Regions from separate parts of the Homo sapiens genome. Here region 2 is linked to region 1. The links are contacts of gene promoters, found by promoter capture Hi-C in human tissues and cell types (Jung and others, 2019). All regions are on one chromosome and are shown on one strand. The core of a region is centred on a gene start or on the middle of the fragment in contact, and the rest is flanking DNA. Distances in the headings are between cores, read along the strand shown. Region 1 holds the start of POLD2 (DNA polymerase delta 2, accessory subunit). Region 2 overlaps CAMK2B (calcium/calmodulin dependent protein kinase II beta).

Region 1 (3,086 bases), core at 366-2,865:
ATCTCTCTTGCCCTCCCTGCCTCAATTTCCTCATGTGTAAAGTGGGAGAAAAATAATAGTTCATGCTTCAAAGGTTTTTTGTTTGTTTGCTTGCTTTGAGACAGCGTCTGGCTCTGTCGCTCAGGCTGAAGTGCAGTGGTGCAATCTTAGGTCACTGCAACCTCAGCCTCCTGGGCTTAAGCGATCCTCCCACCTCGGCCTCCCAAAGTGTTGGGATACAGGCGTGAACCACTGTGTCTGACCCAAAGGATTATTTGAGGAGCAGATGAATTAATGTGTCATAACCTCAAAGCAGTTGCAAAGGCGTTTAATAATTAAAATATCACATTTTAAATTAAAATATAAGGCTGGGCGTGGTGGCTCATGCCTGTAATCCCAGCACTTTGGGAGGCTGAGGTGGGAGGATCACTTGAGCCCAGGAGTTCCACACTAGCCTGGGCACCATTGGGAGACCCTGTCTCTACACACACACGCACACACACACACACACACACAAACTTAAAGTAGCCAGGCGTGGTGCTGCGCGCCTGTTGTCCCAGCTACTCGGGAGGCTGAGGCGGGAGAATCACTGGAGCCTGGGAGTTCGAGGCTGCAGTGAGCCGAGATCGCACCACTGCACTCCAGCCTGGGCCACAGAGCAAGACGCTGCCTCAAACAAACAAACAAAAACAAAAATTAAAATATTAAGTAATAATTAACGAGTGTTAATATCCACTCGTTGTGGAGACAAGACCTGGACTTAGGAAACAGGCCCAGGGAAGTAGCAGAACAGTAGCGCTAGAGGACGCCTGGGAGAATCAGCGCGCGGCGGGAAGAGCCCGGGAAGCTTAGTGGGGAAGCGTCTCTTGATGGGGTGAGGAATTCTATAAATTAGTGGAGATGGAAAAAAAAAAAAAAAAGTATTCCCAAAGTGGGAGACAGCACTCAGAAAGACGTGGTGGTAAGAACGAGTATGAGTAACGGGGACAACGAGGACACTGGAGATTGGGGAGTGTTGGGCTGGAAGCTGGTGTGCAGCTGTGGGCAAGCTAGGGAGGACCCCGAAACCGCCAATGCGTTTCCCGGACGCAGACGCTGGCAGGACGGGAGGAACCCCGAGACCCCGCGCCATCCCTTCAGGAAGAGTTACTTCTCCCCGGCCAAGTTAGTGGGCCTTGGGCCTTCTTTCTGTTGGGATCCTCCTCGCGTGTCGCCATCGCTACAAGTGGGCAGCTCTGCGGGGAAAGCTGGGACGCTGGGGGCTTCACCAAGGAGGCTGGCGGCCGACCACTGGGAGGTCTGGCGGGGTGACGACCACTGGGAGGTTTGGGCAGGGCCTGACGGGGTGACGCGGTCAGCCCACTGGAGGCCGACACCCCCCGTCAGCCCAACCCCTGCACGCGCGGCCGCCAACCAAAGACCCGCGGCGCCGGCCTGCGAGCCCCCGCCCCGCGTTGCCCAGGAAACCGAGGGTGTGGCTCCGCGTTCTCTGGGCGTCCCAGGGACTGGGCGCACAGTGGTCGGCGGGATGAGGCGCCTGGTGACGGACGGGGCGAGGAGGGCAGCGATTGGTGAGATTAGGCGATGGGCGGGGAAGCCGCGCGGGGATTAGCGAGTTGCGGCGATGGGCGGGGCAGGCGCGCGGGGATTGGCGGGATGCGGCGCGCCGCGCGGTGAGTGGGGTCCAGGGAAACGGGGTCAGCTGGGGGTGGCAGTTCCAGGCCGCGAGGCCGGGCTCCTGGGTCGGTGGGCTGGTGTCTTGGCGGACGTCCCGCAGCTGCCGCGTGGATCCGAGCCGGGGCACCCGCCGTGACTGGGACAGCCCCCAGGGCGCTCTCGGCCCCATCCCGAGTAGCGCGGCCTGGCTGCTGCCGCCATCAAGCACGTTCGAGCCAAAAGCTCCTAACGAGTCACTCGTTAGACACGTGTGCGGAGCCTGTGTCCCAGGCCAGTGCTGTCCCGTGGAGATAGATTGCAAGCCGCTAGGGAATTTTTTAACTTTCTAGTAGGTGTACGAAAAAAGTAAAACGAAACAAATCAATTGGAGTAAATCCATAAATATATTCAAACTATTATTTCAATTGTATGTGAAAAAATTATTGGGATATTCTTTGTACTATTCTTAGAAATCCATTGTGTGTCCAACCCAAACATCACAGTTGGACTCACCACATCTCCTGTACTTCGTAGCCCTAGGTGGCTAGTGGCATAAGACACAAAAATCTCAGCTCTCCTGGAGCTTATGGTCTAGTTGGAGCAGGCAGACAATACATTTAAAATATACAGTTTGTTAGAAGGTAAATGTTGTAAACAACAATAACAGTTGAAGTACTGGGGAGAGTTGCAGTTGTAAATCAGATGGGCAGGGCACAAGGTAACATTTGAGTAAAGATGTAAGAACTTGAAGGAGATGGGCAAGTGAGCTCTATAAGTATACGGGAGAGGGGCAAGCAAGAGTTCAGAGGCCCCTTGCTGTGGGGAGGGATCCAAGGTGGAGGAGTGGGAACCAGGAGGGGAGAGGACCAGTGGAGCAGATCTCATAGGCAGTTGTAAGGACTTGGGGCCTTATTCAATGAAATGAGGACACTTTGGAGAGTTTTGAACAGAGCAGTGACTGATTTATGTTTTGGTTTTGGTTTAGTTCTATTATTATTTAATAATAGGCTTATTATTTCACAGAAGTTTTATTTAATAAGGCAGACCTCTTGTCTGGAAATGAGACAGGTGCCGGAGAGCTGGATGGAGGCAGATCGGGAATTCCATTTGGGGCAAACTGAACTTGATTGAGACCCTGGTAGTTGTCCAGATGGAACAGGACACCTGAGTCTAGGGTTCGGGAAGAACTCCAGATGGGACAAACACTCCTAGCTTTCCTTTTCTCTTTTTGGATGACCGCTACAGGGTGAGACATCGGTATCCAGGCACGATAAATTTCCAAGTGGACACAATGTCTGGTGTCAACTACAGCTGTTCTCCTTCTTTTCCCAGTATCCTTTGGGTGCAGTGAGACACCAGGAGAGCTGCTGCTTTGGGGGATGGACAGGGGCAGCAGGAATGCCTTTGTGTTTTCGCAGTGAACCTCCTTGGCCTGGGCGAAGCTGTGTGGA
Region 2 (3,086 bases), core at 168-2,667, 180 kb before region 1:
TCTGGCATCCTGGCTCCACCTACCATGGGCACTTCTTTCATCCCACAGCTCAGCTTGTCCCTGGAATTTCTCAGGTGAGAGTCAGGATGGCAGCTCCGGCAATTAGCCATCTGCACATCTGGATTTTAGGGGCAAAGAGGAGAAGAGACGTGCCTTGTGCTTAAAGTGTTCACATTCCTGTTAGGGAACAGAACAAGAACGTGCCTGCCCCATGCCTCCTGGGCACATCCCGTGTGGGTGAGGCCACAGCAGGCCCTCCCAGCATTTGGGCTACATGAGGTGAATGGGTGGTTTCCCTCATATGGAAAGAGCTCCTATAGGTCAAAAAGGCCTGGAATCCCAGCGCTTTGGGAGGCCCAGGTGGGAGGATCACTTAGGCTAGGAGATCAAGGCTGCAGTGAGCTGCAGTCACACCACTGCACTCCAGCCTGGGTGACAGAATGAGGCCCCCCAGTTAAAAAAAAATGGCCAAAACCCCAGTTGAAGTACGGATGACAGCAGCAACAGCTCACAGAAAAATAAATGAAAGCTTTCAGTGGGTAAAAACAGGAAAACAAATTCAACAAGGGTCAGCTCTCAGCGTTCCCCTCAGAGTTCCCACAGGCTCCTTCCAGGTGGCCCTAGGCTAATGGGCCACCTCCACCAGACTCTGGCTAAGCGCATCTCATGAGGCCAGGACCAAGGCCCTAGGACACAGGCACCGTAGCCTTGTCCCAGGGAGTAGGTTGGCCCCTGATGTGCGTGACAGCCTCTCCATGTGGGCAGGGGAGGAATTCCAAAGATGCAGTGAGCCCTGGCAGACCATTCCCAGTGCCAGGGGCCAGATGGCGCCAATGACACAGGAGGCCCCAGGCTGAGCCTCCTGAAACCCTCCTCTTCACACACCCTCCCCTGCTCACACCCTCCTCCCCCTGATCACACCCTCCTCCTTCTGCTTACCCCCTCTTCTCCCTGCTCACACCCTCCTCCCCCTGCTGACAACTTCCTCCCCCTGCTGACAACTTCCTCCCCCTTCTCACACCCTCCTCCGCCTGCTCACACCCTCTTCCCTCTGCTCACACCCTCCTCCCCTTGCTCACACCCTCTTCCCTCTGCTCACACCCTCCTCCCCTTGCTCATACCCTCCTCCTGTTCACACCCTCCTCTCTCTGCTCACACCCTCCTCCCTCTGCTCACACCCTCCTCCCTCTGCTCACACCCTCCTCCCCCTGCTCACACCCTCCTCCTGCTCACACCCTCCATCCCCTGCTCAGACCCTCCTCCCCCTGCTCAGACCCTCCTCCCCCTGCTCACCGCCTCCTCTCCCTGCTCACACCCTCTTCTTCCTGCTCACACCCTCCTCCTCCTGCTCACACCCTCCTCCCCTTTCTCACATCCTCCTCCCCCTACTCACCCCCTTCTCTTCCTGCTCACACCCTCTTCCCCCTGCTCACACCGTCTTCCTGCTCACACCCTCCTCCTCCTGCTCACACCTTCCTTCCCCTGCTCACACCCTCCTCATTCTACTCACACTCTCCTACCCCTGCCCTTACCCTCCTCCCCTGCCCACACCCTCCTCCCCTGCTCGCATCCTCCTCCCCCTGCCCACACCCTCCTCCTCCTGCCCACACCCTCCTCCTGCTCACTGGTTTCAGCATGGCCAGATTGAGTGACAGTTCTCCAGCAACCCCTGTGCATTATCTGCATAATCCACCACATGCTTCAAGGCTGGGTCCAGGGCTAAGAGACAGGCTGGACCTCTCCACCCTAGAGGCTAGGCCTGACCTGCAGGCCTCCCCTAGTCTGTTGGAAGAGCATGGGCACAGTGGGCTACAGGTGTTCCTGGGTGGTCCTCCCTCCTGTCTTCATCTCTGTATTTATTTTGCTCTTTGCTTAATGCAGACCTCCCCACTGGGGTCATGGCCATTGTTCTGGGGCACAGCTCCTGTGGGGTTGCTAAAGGAAGACATTTGTTGCTGAAGATTTCTGGAGGATATGGTTCACCTGAGAGAACGGAGAAGTGAAAGAGAAAGATGGATGCTGATACAGAATGAGCAGAAGTCCCAGACCCTCCCTGGAAGGGGGAACTTCCCACCGAGGCTGCACAGGACAGGCTGGATTTACGGGGATCCCAGCCCAGCCCACCGTGGCTTTCAGAACCCCCAGTCAGACTGGCTCCCCTGTGAGCCCTCTCCTCAGGAAGAGTGCTCACCCCCTCTCCTCTCTCACTCCCATGGGGAGCATGTAATTTCAGCCCCTAGGTGGTTTCTGGCCTGTCAGGTTCTCCTCCCTCCTGACCCTCAACCCCCCTCCCTCTGGGTATTTGGGGTATGTAGAGGGAGGCCACATCATCCCCCCTTGCAGTCCCCTCTCAAGTGGTGCCTGGTCAATGTTTAACAGAGGGGTGGGGTCCCTGGTGGGTGGTGTTTGCCCATTTCTGTGGTATGAAGATGCCCACCGTGGCCAATGTCAAGCTAACAACATGACATCAGCTGGCTCGCAAGAATCCAGAAAATGTGAAAGTCTGTTCTCTAGCTGGAAGAGCTGTCTCTGACACCCACTGCCTCTGCCTTGGCCCAGCCAGCGTGACCGAGTGATGGAGTGAGCCAAGACGGCACCCAAGGCCTCTCGCCCCTGTCTTGGTCCTGCTGCCAACTCCCGGCCCTGCTTCTTCCCACTCTCAGGGCTCTACTTGGCTCAAGTCCTGTGATTCATTTTCCTCTTGCTCCCACCTCCCCCACCTCACAGGGGTGCCCCGTCCATCTCCCCAGGAGACTGTTTTTGAGCCAGTGCAGGGCACCTCAGGGGACCTGTGCAGGGCGGCAAGAGGTTGATTGGGGGGCTTGGGGATTTTTTGTTTCATTTTGTTTTGTTTTTGAGACTGGGGCTTGCTCTGCCACCCAGTCTGGGGTGCAGAGGTGCATCATAACTCACTGTAACCTTGAACTCCTGGGCTCAAGCAATCCTCCCACCTTGGCCTCCCAAAGTGCTGGGATTATAGGCATGAGCCACTGTGCCTGGCTAGGGGAGAGGGGTCTGGTTTGATCCCACCTCCACATCCATGCTGCCATGGTCTCAGCAGAGCATTCAGTGCCTGTCCCTTCCTG

The links. Contacts are between HindIII fragments. The study calls those that stand out against the background at their distance.
Region 2: a fragment that was not itself captured here is called in contact with the fragment with the promoter of POLD2 in region 1 in 1 of the 25 tissues and cell types used here (H1 embryonic stem cells).

The regions. Positions count from the first base shown.
Region 1 is chr7:44,122,077-44,125,162 of GRCh38, reverse strand. It overlaps POLD2 (DNA polymerase delta 2, accessory subunit), which reads left to right and starts at 1,615. Exons shown (of 11, transcript NM_006230.4): 1 at 1,615-1,652; 2 at 3,054-3,086. RefSeq lists enhancers at 950-1,009, 529-1,433 and a silencer at 1,220-1,929. The HindIII fragment of the contact is 6,473 bases long and covers 284-3,086 here.
Region 2 is chr7:44,305,253-44,308,338 of GRCh38, reverse strand. The region is part of intron 1 of CAMK2B (calcium/calmodulin dependent protein kinase II beta); the gene reads left to right. Among named protein-coding and RNA genes, the nearest start is that of CAMK2B, 19 kb to the left of the region's middle. RefSeq lists an enhancer at 2,049-2,098. The HindIII fragment of the contact is 4,208 bases long and covers 1-3,086 here.